Linked DNA regions of Homo sapiens: all the other regions are linked to region 2. Evidence: promoter capture Hi-C in human tissues and cell types (Jung and others, 2019). All regions are on one chromosome and are shown on one strand. The core of a region is centred on a gene start or on the middle of the fragment in contact, and the rest is flanking DNA. Distances in the headings are between cores, read along the strand shown. Region 1 overlaps RPS27A (ribosomal protein S27a). Region 2 holds the start of EML6 (EMAP like 6). Region 3 overlaps ACYP2 (acylphosphatase 2). Region 4 overlaps ACYP2 (acylphosphatase 2).

What was found. The method cuts DNA at HindIII sites, captures the fragments that hold promoters and counts their contacts. A contact is called where the count stands out against the background at its distance.
Region 1: a fragment that was not itself captured here is called in contact with the fragment with the promoter of EML6 in region 2 in 2 of the 25 tissues and cell types used here (dorsolateral prefrontal cortex and hippocampus).
Region 3: a contact is called between a fragment that was not itself captured here and the fragment with the promoter of EML6 in region 2, in 1 of the 25 tissues and cell types used here (dorsolateral prefrontal cortex).
Region 4: a contact is called between a fragment that was not itself captured here and the fragment with the promoter of EML6 in region 2, in 2 of the 25 tissues and cell types used here (dorsolateral prefrontal cortex and hippocampus).

What each region holds. Positions count from the first base shown.
Region 1 is chr2:55,235,128-55,237,827 of GRCh38, reverse strand. It overlaps RPS27A (ribosomal protein S27a), which reads right to left. Exons shown (of 6, transcript NM_002954.6): 6 at 1,975-2,400. The coding sequence ends at 2,251. It overlaps MTIF2 (mitochondrial translational initiation factor 2), which reads left to right. Exons shown (of 16, transcript NM_002453.3): 15 at 400-540; 16 at 1,008-1,233. The coding sequence ends at 1,180. Among named protein-coding and RNA genes, the nearest start is that of RPS27A, 3.8 kb to the right of the region's middle. The HindIII fragment of the contact is 5,067 bases long and covers 1-2,700 here.
Region 2 is chr2:54,722,342-54,725,041 of GRCh38, reverse strand. It overlaps EML6 (EMAP like 6), which reads right to left and starts at 1,380. Exons shown (of 42, transcript NM_001039753.4): 1 at 1,265-1,380; 2 at 1-493. RefSeq lists silencers at 177-326, 998-1,487 and an enhancer at 1,628-1,847. The HindIII fragment of the contact is 12,546 bases long and covers 1-2,700 here.
Region 3 is chr2:54,179,946-54,182,849 of GRCh38, reverse strand. The region is part of intron 3 of ACYP2 (acylphosphatase 2); the gene reads right to left. Among named protein-coding and RNA genes, the nearest start is that of ACYP2, 66 kb to the right of the region's middle. The HindIII fragment of the contact is 6,996 bases long and covers 1-2,904 here.
Region 4 is chr2:54,203,864-54,206,563 of GRCh38, reverse strand. The region is part of intron 3 of ACYP2 (acylphosphatase 2); the gene reads right to left. Among named protein-coding and RNA genes, the nearest start is that of TSPYL6, 51 kb to the left of the region's middle. The HindIII fragment of the contact is 3,733 bases long and covers 1-2,700 here.

The DNA.
Region 1 (2,700 bases), core at 146-2,645, 510 kb before region 2:
AATATAAAAATCAGCTGGATGTGGTTGTGGGCGCCTGTAATCCCAGCTACTCGGGAGGCTGAGGCATGAGAATCGCTTAAACCCCGGAGGTGGAGGTTGCAGTGAGCCAAGATCACACCACTGCACTCCAGCCTGGATGACAGAGTGAGACTCTGTCTCAAAAAAAAAAAAAAAAAAAGAAAAAAAGAAAAGGAAAAGAATAGCCAAAGATTTTCATTCATTTTTATTCTTAATATTGGTCAGGAAAATAAAATTGGAGTTAAAGAAACCCAGACTTTTTTCTAGGCATGAATTTGGATTTTTGTCATACCTTTAATTCTTATACCACAGAATGTCAGAAATTACGTATTTATCAGAATCTTTAGTTTTCTGCACATTAATGTTCTCTTCTTCCTAAAGGTGAGGCATCTATACTAGCTACCTTCTCTGTAACAGAAGGGAAGAAAAAAGTTCCTGTGGCTGGCTGCAGAGTCCAAAAGGGACAGTTAGAAAAACAAAAAAAATTTAAACTAACCCGTAATGGACATGTAATTTGGAAGGGTAAGCAACATCAAAATCTCCTATAATAGCATATCCAGTCACCAAGACCTGTTGACTATATAACCATCTGAAATCTGTTCATCTTTCATGCCCATAATCTCAGCTCAGGCCATTTCTTATTGCTATTGAAACCCCTAAATTGTCTGTAGTTGATGGGTTCCCTTTGCCTGAGATGTATGTTGGTTTTACCCATTCAAGTCCTGAGTACCATCCTGTCCTCAGCAAAAAGTTTATGTCTACCTTTGAAATAGGAGATTTAGGTTATTTTGTTACAAATCAAGTCTTATTCACAGCAAACTTCATTTTTGAGGGGGTTCCCCTGGTATTTAGTCCCATCATTTAACTTGACAAGACCATAAAATTTTTAAGAATTTCAGTGTAATTTCCTGGTTAACACCACATAATGTAGTATTTAGTAGGTACTTATCATTTATTGAATATACTAACCTTAAATTATCTTTTTTAAGGCTCATTAACCTCATTGAAACACCATAAAGATGACATTTCAATTGTCAAAACGGGAATGGATTGTGGTCTCAGTTTAGATGAAGACAATATGGAATTTCAAGTGGGAGACAGAATTGTTTGTTATGAAGAAAAGCAAATTCAAGCCAAGACTTCTTGGGATCCAGGATTTTAAAATTACATTAAAAATGTAAATAACTCAACGTGTTGTTTGTTTGAAGGTAGAAATGCACTACTACTGGCCAAAAAGTATCTAAGTTGTTTTACCATGTGTTCATATGCATTTGCACAAACTGTCAAAGTGCTCAGAAATAGGAAACCTTATTTAAGGATGCCTCCAACTAGAAATCCTTGAATGGAAAGACTGGCAATATGGTAAAAGTGAATTGTTATTTATACATCACCGATTTCTTTCAAGTGTATGCTTTAGTTAAGAGGCTTATCAAGTGAACCAGCTTTCCCTGAATTGAGCTCCGAAGGAAGATAGGCTACCCCAGTCCTGCTTGAAACTAAACTGTCTTTTACTGTTAACAGTACAAATAAGTAATCATTCCTTTATAGGGATCCATCCTGAACAAACATTAAATTCCCAAGCGTTGTACAACAGACAGCAAGCATTCCACTGAAACACCCAGAGACTGAGGATGCATTTTGTTTTTTTTGGAAGCAGGGTTTTGTCCAGGCTGAAATGCAATGCATAATTAATTACAACTCCTGGGCTCAAGGGATCCTTTTGTCTCAGACTTCCCAGTAGGCAGGACCATAGGAGTCAGCCTACTTTTTTTTTTTTTTTTTTTTTTTTTACAGAGATGGGGGTCTTGCTATGGTGCCCAGGCTGCTCTTGAACTCCTGGACACTCAAGTGATCCTCCCAAAGCATAGGGATTACAGGCACCCCACAACAAAGAATTACCTGGCCCCAAATGTCTGTTGTGTTGAGGTCAAGAAATGGACAGAAACACAAACTGGCTTATATTTAGACAACTTACATTAAATATAACTTCTGCCAAAGTATAGGTAGTCTAAGAATTGAAAATATCAAGACCTTTACAAGTGGTTGGCACCTGGCAGGTATACAGAACCACTGGGTCACATAATCCCCAGAGGCAACATTCACACAGCGATAGCAGTAGCACTACTAAAAGGAAATGGTGTGACCATCAATTTGGTGCTTAAAAACCATTCTTTTTACTGCAATAAAACCCAACAATAAATGTTAGTTCATGTCTTTTATTAACTCATACAGTTACTTGTCTTCTGGTTTGTTGAAACAGTAAGTCAGACAACATTTGCCACAATAATGTCTGTCAAAGTGACTTGCCATAAACACCCCAGCACCACATTCATCAGAAGGGCACTCTCGACGAAGGCGACTAATTTTGCCATTCTCATCCACCTGAAAAGCACAAACCTGCTGTTAAGATAATTTTACAACACATTCTGAAGTCTAATTTAAGTGACTCAAAATATTTAAGCTTTTAACTGTGTAATACTGGTGGTTTTGGTGCTTACAAACCAAAGCACCCTAAATTCTCACCAGTTATCATTGCTACAATGAAAACATTCAGAAGTCTTGGGACTTTTGAACACTAAAGGCCAGCTTTGCAAGTGGTAGACAAAGGTAAAGACCTGAACCCAAACCCGACTTTAAACTCAGAACCCTATTACATAACTGATTTCAAATACCAAACAGGAA
Region 2 (2,700 bases), core at 131-2,630:
CCCCCGCCCCCCCGCGCGCCGGGGCCGTCCTCGCCGAGGCTGGGGCTGCGGCGGACCTGCAGGGGCTCAGCGCGCGGCGCAGGGCGCTGATTTCCGCGGCGACACACAGGCACAGCCCAGCGGGCCGGCCGCCACCATCATCCGCTGCAGCCGCCGCAGACAAGCCGCCGCCGCCGGTGTGCGGCCGCCAGACCCCGCCGGGCGCCGGGCTCCCTCTACCCGGGCAAGGCGGCTCTGGGGGCGCCGGCACCGGCGCGCGCGCCTCACTGCACCTGCGGGCTCCGGCCCCCGGGAGAGGCTCTCGGGGGGGCCACCCCGCCTTTTACATCAGGAATCTGCATATCCCAACAGCGATCACCCAGTTCGCTCACTGAAGTTTGCGGTGCGCCGGGGCTTCGCGGCAGGCGGCGGGATTTATTCTGCGATAGCCTTGATTTGACAGGCAACCCGGGTGAGCTCTGCCATCGCCGTCTTTGGATCCGAAATTGACAGTCTATATCCAGGAAGCGAGAGCGAGGAAGAAAGAAACAGATTTTTCGCATAAGTCACCCAATCCAAGAAAATTATCCCCAAACTAAACCAAGTTGGGTATTTTTAAAAATTGTCCCCTACTCCCGCTTTCTCTCTCCAGTTCCATCTCCTTAATGATATGAAATATGCGTAAATGCTGCTGCCTGGCAGTTGCTGATGCGATTTGAAGGAACGCTTGCTGTTTCCCTAATAAGCGAGGGCGAATATGCAATGGTCATTTTTTAGATGCTCCAATTAGTTTTCATGTGTGTGTTTAATAATCATATCCTCCGTGAACCTTCTCTTCACCGAGAAAGCCATAAAGAACTTAGCAGCTCTCATTGATCAGCAACTCCAATCCGCATCATGAAAGATTGTCTTACTCGGAAGAAACGAGGCACTAGTGCAGTCGGAGGGAGTGCGCTACCTACAAACGCTCCTGGTCGAGGAGAAATCAAATAACAAGTGGCAAAAATCGTGTACTTCTCCCCAGAAACCTCTGCGCTAAACACCGGGTCCCACGGAATCCCGGGTCCTGCCCTGAGCCCAGCGTGGAGAGGGGTCGCCCGAGGGACCCGGGGGACAGCAACCCCCCACAGACGCACACGTCCCGGGGGTCGGCGCGCTGCGCGAGGGATGCCCGCCCTCAGGACTGTTCGGCCCGCGCGCACTGCCGCCCTGGCGGCGCCCTGCACTCCTCCCACTCTCGAACCAGCCTCGCCCGCGGAGCATCCGCGCGCTCTCTGCCTCTAACCTCTGCTGCCAGCGGACGCCACCGGCGCGTCCCGGATCCCGCGCGGGCGAGCGAGCGAAATCCTCTGCCTGCCCTCCCCTCCCCGCCTCCCGCACCCGGGGATGGACTTCGTCACTGGGGCGCCGCGGGAGACAGGTTCTTCCTCCAGCCGGGGCTCCGGGGGCGGGGCCACAACGCCGCGCTAGTGAACCTCAGCTGCCGGTTACTAGGCGAGATCTCGCCGCTTGGAAACAGCGACGCCCCGGAGGACTGGGGCCGCCCCCTCCCTCTGCCTGTCCCTGTGGCCTCTTCCCCCGACGCATCCTGGGAAGTGTAGTCCTCTCTGCGCCGGTTAGGGCGGACAGCGCGCGGAAGGGACCACAAGTCCCAGGATTCCGCGCGCCCAGAGGGAGTCGCAGCGAGACCTGTACCGGCGTCAGCGGAGCCTGCGGCTCTCGGGGTGAGGAGATCCCGGCTCACCAAGGACGATTGCCTGCCCACGCGGGCGTTCCCTTGTGACTGAGGCGGGAGCTGGCGTGCGTGGGTCTCTGTAGAGAAAAGCGGTGGAGTTGGAATGGAGACGGTCTCCCAGCCCACCACTGGAATTTCTCCTTCATCGGTCTCTGAGTGTTGCTGTAACCGACATCCTCACCATGCTGTAACTGACTCAAGCTTAAGTTTGTTTCCTACTTAAGTTTTCCTTTTCATTCACATGGATTTTAATTTGTTAAAGTGCAGTTCTGCCAAGTTTAAGAAAAATGCTGGGAATGTGAGCTCACTTCTGCCCTAAGAACCAGCGTCTTCCCATGACCTGCGTCCTAAATTAGAGGACTTGGGTATTTACAGATAACCGGAGGTTGGAAGCAGGAAGGTGCTCACGCCATGAACAGCTAACCTTGGCCTTCAAACGCAGAAGCTGGTGGCATTTCTCCTAAAACTGCCCGAGATGAACTATGAATCCACTGTGTTCTCAAGTAGCCTATTTCCAATTTAGGGCCATAGCTAGTCTTTGGAAAGAGATTTCAAAATCCCAGTGACTAAGAGGCTGCAAAAGGATGATGGATTGGACGTTTGGAACGTCCTTTCCCTCCCATGCTTTCAGTGTAATCGCTTACTCAGTTCATCTCCCTCAAGTTTTAAGACAACCCTCCGACCTGGTAGGAAAGCTCGAAAGAACTGGAAGTGCCAGAGTTTGGATGATTTGTTGCTGCCCGCAGTAATGAGGATTTGAATTGGTCTCATCTTTGTTTTTAAGGAAACAGAATCAACAAATAAGTGAGATGGCACTGTGCTAGGCAACAAGAACACTGCCAAAAACAAAAACACGGCCTGAGAAAGGTTTGAGATAGAAGCAAAAATATAGTTGATCAATGATGTCGTGCCATAAAACAGTGCCAAATGAATTATATAAAGACAGTAAGTTTTTGTTGTTCTTTTTGTTTTGTTTTGTTTTGAGA
Region 3 (2,904 bases), core at 270-2,769, 540 kb after region 2:
GGATCTGCCCCAAGATGGGCACTGCCGCTATAGGCAAATAATAAGCCAAGAAAAAGAAAAAAAAACAACTTCCACTTGGTTAAACAAACTGTTCTAAATTCAAGGAGTCTCTGCCAGTTATGTGACTTTGCGTGACTGACTCTGCTTTACCCCTCCAGGCCCAAGAGACAAGGCTGTCCAGACACCAAACGGTGGTCACAGATTTTATCTTCTACCAGGAATGGTCACTCACACCTGTAATTCCAGGACTTTGGGAGGCCAAGGCAGGAGGACTGCTTGAGCCCAGGAGTTCAAGACCAGCCTGGGCAACAGACTCTACCTCTACAAAAAAAATAGAAAAAATAGCTGGGCGTGGTGACGCATGCCTGTAGTCCCAGCTAGCCAGAAGGCTAAGGTGAGAGAAGTGCTTGAGCCTGGAAGGTCAAGGCTTCAGTGAACCATGATTGTGCAACCGTATTCCCGCCCGGGCAACAGAGTGAGACTCTGTCAACAACAACAACAAAATTTATCTTCCCTGTAATCCCAGCACTTTGGGAGGCTGAGGCGGGTGGATCATGAGGGCAGGAGTTTGAGACCAGCCTGGCCAACATGACGAAACTCTGTCTCTACTAAAAATACAAAAATTAGACTGACGTGGTGGCGGGCGCCTGTAATCCCAGCTACTCGGGAGGCTGAGGCAGGAGAATCACTTGAAACCCGAAGGCTGAGGTTACAGTGAGCTGAGATTGTGCCACCATACTCCAGCCTGGGTGAAAAAGCAAAACTCCGTCTCAACCAAAAAAAAAAAAAAAAAAAAAAAAAATTATCTTCTATTTTTCTGTTTTCTTTGTTATTTTTAGTGGCAGAATGGTAGACGTTTGTACTGACACATAAATAAGTATATAGGGTTTTGTAAGAGAGGGTCCATCAGATTTTAAGATTTATGGCCTATGTTTTATGAACCTTTTTAAATGTTTATTTTATTTTACAACAAAAAAAAGTTTAACATAAAATGTGCATAGCAGTGGGGTAAAAATTCATTACTACTAGTCAGGAGAACCAGTGGACAGAAATGGCTTTGTGAGTCTCAGCCAAATAAGAACAATAATTAAACCCTGACCAGGCAGGGATACTGTTTATTCTATTCACCATCAGGTCACCAGAGACTGGCACATAGTAAGTGCTTAATAAATATTTGATGAATTAAATTGATTTGAAGATGTATAGAACAGTTTCTTAAAATTATATCATTGGAAATGGGTATTACAGAATTCAGATTATATGTAATTTTAGGAAAGTTAACAGGAAATTAATATTTATGTGGGGCCTGGCAGAAAGTCATGCTTACAATGCCAGGAGTTTTCTCTGGTTTAATTCTGCTACTACTATAAGTAGTAGGGATTATTATCATTATGTTCTTGTTATATTTTCAGCCTGTCATGGTGTTCAGCAAGGTTAAGAAACTTATACAAGGTGATAAAGCTGGACTTCAGTTCTAGTTTTCTCTCACTCCATTCAAACACACTACCTTCCATAACACATAAAATGAGGTTTGTATTATCCCTGACCATCCAGTCTAAAGTGTCCTGCCCCACTTACTGTCTTTCATCATCCTGTTTATTTCCTTCTAGGACTTGTCACAATTCACAATAATCTTGTTTATTTGTTAGTTATCCGACTCCCTTGAGAAATGTTAATGGTATGAGAGTGGGTAATTTTTCTAGATGTTCACAGCCATATCCTAGTGTTTTGAACATAGTAGTTTCTTGATAAATATGTTTTGAATACAATGAATGAACACACTGAAGTGCTTTTTGTAATACTAAAACAAGGTTAACCTAAGTAAAGAGATCTGCTATGGTCTGAATGTTTATGTCCCTCTAAAATTCCTATCTTGAAATCCAATGCCCAATGTGAGAGTATCTGGAGGTGGGTCCTTTAAAAGGTGATTAGGTTGTGAGGGCTGAGCCTTCATGAATGGGATGAATGTCTGTGATATTAACAAATATATATTTGGGCTGGGCGCAGTGGTTCACGCCTGAAATCTCAGAATTTTCGGAGGCTGAGGCAGGCGACTGCTTGAGCTCAGGAGTTCGAGACAGACCTGGGCAACATGGCAAAATCCCATCTCTACAAAAAAATACAAAAATTAGCCTGGCATGGTGGTGTGTGCCTGTGGTCCCAGCTACTCAGGAGGCTGAGGTGGGAGGATTGTTTGAGCCCAGGAGGTTGAAACTGCAGTGAGCCATGATCATGCCACCACACTTTAGCCTGGGCGACACAGCAAGACTCTGTCTCAAAAAGAAAGAAAACCAACAAATATATATTTGGTCTTTGATCACAGATTTCTGGCATAGAACTCCTAAAATCCTCAGAATCTCCGAAGTGATGTCTTTTCATATGCTAATGATTGACTGATGCCTGGCAACCCCCAGGTGGTAGCTTCAGGATGGAGGCTGGTCACTGGAAAGACCAAGGCATGATAACAGGTTTAAGATATTCAGCCCCACCCGCTAACCTCCAGGGAAAGGAGGGGGGCTAAAGGTTAAGCTGATCTCCAATGGCCAATGATTAATCAATCATGGCTACTGAATGAAGCCTCCATTAAAAAAAATTAAAAATAAAAATAGAAATAAATAAACAGGGTTTGGAGAACTTCCAGATAGCTAAGCACCTGGAGACTTCTGGAGGGTGGTACGCCCAGGACAGCATGGAAGCTGCATGCACTATGCATCTCTAAATCTGCATCCTTGGTAATATCCTTTATAATAAACTGGTAAATGTAAGTTTCCAAGTTCTATGAGCTACCCTAGAAAATTAATTGAATTCAAGGAGGGGTCATGGGAACCCCCACTTGAAGCCAGTCAGTTGGTCAGAAGTTCCAGAGGCCGAGACTTGCTACTGATTTCTAGGGCTTAAGAGGGA
Region 4 (2,700 bases), core at 86-2,585, 520 kb after region 2:
TTCAAAGTGCCTTTTAGTACATTCATTCTGAATCAAACACAATAGAGATATCGTTTCTAATTAGACCTTTAGCAAAGTGACAGGCAACCTAATTAAACAAGAACATATGATAACATAATCTGAATAAAAGCATTTTAGAATCACAGGACTTGAAAATAAATTTTAAGTGGATAGGAGAATAATTCAAAGTAGTTTTCCAAGCACGACCAGCAATGGTGGTAAATAACAGATCTAAATTACAATTCATGGTATCTGCCTCTAATGCACAATGTCATTCATTATGAATATTTAAGAAAATTATTTGCAAACAAATAAATTACAACGATATACTGAGCCCAAGGCCCCAAACTTAAAATCCAAATGTCTTCAAGGACAGGGGAATTAACAAAAATATGGAAAGTTTCAGGTATAAGAGGGTGAGGAGGCAGTGTGCATGCCCCATCAAAAAGCAAGCTTACATTAAAATAATGCAGTAACTTTATTCCTTCTCAAAAGAATGCATCAGTACTAGGCAGAATCAGTACTAGGCAGAATGATCCTTGGACTAGGCAATAGAAGTAAATTAGAATGATAAATATAGGAATTATTAAAGAGAACATGGCCATAAATATCCAGGAAATATATACACTCAAAAAAGGAATTTATGTTTGATAAGTACATTATTCATAATTATTGATACAAATTAACCCTAAACCAAAGCTTGTATCACATTAAAAGTGCAAAATTAGCTGCAGATGAATATCCTGACCCAATTATGCAAACACTCTGGTAAATCTGTGTAGACTAAAGGCTCTGAGAAGAAAGTTGAACTTCAGAGGGGTAGAGGGGAGGAGTATTTCAGAAAAGGGATTTATAAAGGAATGAAAATATTTGGAAGACATTGGTAAAAAGGAGATACTTGGGAAGGTAAATCTAAGTCACTATAGAAAGAATTTTGAAGAGATGGGTCTTTACCATCTAGGCCCTTTGTGGAAGAGCTGAAAATACCTCACAGCAACAGGATGTGACTGCTGCCTCATCTGGGAAGACAGATCAACTCAAGCCATCTCAAAGAGGTGAAGGGTAGATGTATAATAGGAGTAGGCGGGGAGAGGAGAATGTATACTGATGTCATAAGAGGATATGCAAAGGTTTTGTGAGAAACCAAGGACAAGAACAGAAAACAGTAGGTCACCCTCTAAGAAACCAAGCCTTCTCTTCCTTGCAGATGGTCTATCTGCTTCTCTCCGGGCATCATCTCAGATGCTGACTGCTTTTTCTGGTGGTTCCCTCTCTAGGCCCAGATGCTGTCTCAGAATTTTTTAGACCAGCTCCCATGGGTTACTGGCAATATCCACCATGGCCTCACAGACTTTACCCACCATGCCTATGCAGGTGCTTGAGAATACATACTCCCTGACCTAACAAAGCAAAGAAACTTTGTAGACATTTAAGGGACTTAGCAATTCAAAGGAGGGAAACCAGAATGGAGAGATAGGCAACTTTTACAAAAGCCAAATTAATGGAAGAAACAATAAAAATGTAATAAGAATGTTTAAGGGGATACACAAGGAGAATAACTACGAAAACTCAAGGAGAAGGTGCCTATGAGAAACATGAACTCTGGGGCTTAAGTTCCAAAAGGATGTAAAATGAATGGCTGGTATTAAAAACCAAACTAGTAAACTGGAATATGAAGCAAAGGAACTATCACATCACAAAGCAGAAATAATGAAATGTCAATCAGTGGTGAAAATATAACAGGCATACAGGACAGATTCAGGAGGCCTAATAAGCAAATAGCATTTCCAGCAAGAGAGAAAAGAGCAGAAGCAATAATCAAATAGGAAAACCCTGAAGTGAAGAAAGAATTGAGTTTTTTAGATCAAAGGAGCTCACCGAATGCCAGGCAGTTATAAGGGAAATAAAAGACACATTCTTCACATTTTTATGGTGAAGTTTTAAACTCCAACTAGAAAGAACAAGTCTTTTAGGCTTCAAGACAGCAAGAACAGGATATTTACTTATAAAAGCAAAATAATGACAACTGGCATCGGACCTTTCATATGCCACACTGGAACCTAGAATAAGTATATAAACTTTTAAGAAAAAAGGACTGCATTCCAAGAATCTTGTGTCCAGGCAAGATATAATCCAGGGGTGTCCAATCTTTTGGCTTCCCTGGGCCACACTGGAAGAAGAAAAATTGCGTTGGGCCACACATAAAATACACTAATATTACTGACAGCTGATGAGCTGAAAAAAAAAATCATAAAAAAAAAAAAATCCCATGGCCGGGCGCAGTGGCTCATGCCAGTAATCCCAGCACTTTGGCCGAGGTGGGCGGAACATGAGGTCAGGAGTTCGAGACCAGCCTGGCCAATATGGTGAAATTCCGTCTCTACTAAAAATACAAAAAAAATTTAGCTGGGCATGGTGGCACATGCCTGTAGTCCCAGCTACTCAGGAGGCTGAGACAGGTGAATCACTTCAACGTGGGAGGCAGAGGTCGCAGTGAGCCGAGATCGTGCCACTGCACTCCAGCCGGGGTGACAGAGCGAGACTCCGTCTTAAAAACAACAATAACAACAACAACAACAAAAACCTCATAATGTTTTAAGACAGTTTATGAATTTGTGAATTTGTGCTGGACTGCATTCAAAACTATCCTGGGCCGTGGGTTGGACAAGCTTAATATAATCTATAAGGTGATTGGAAGAA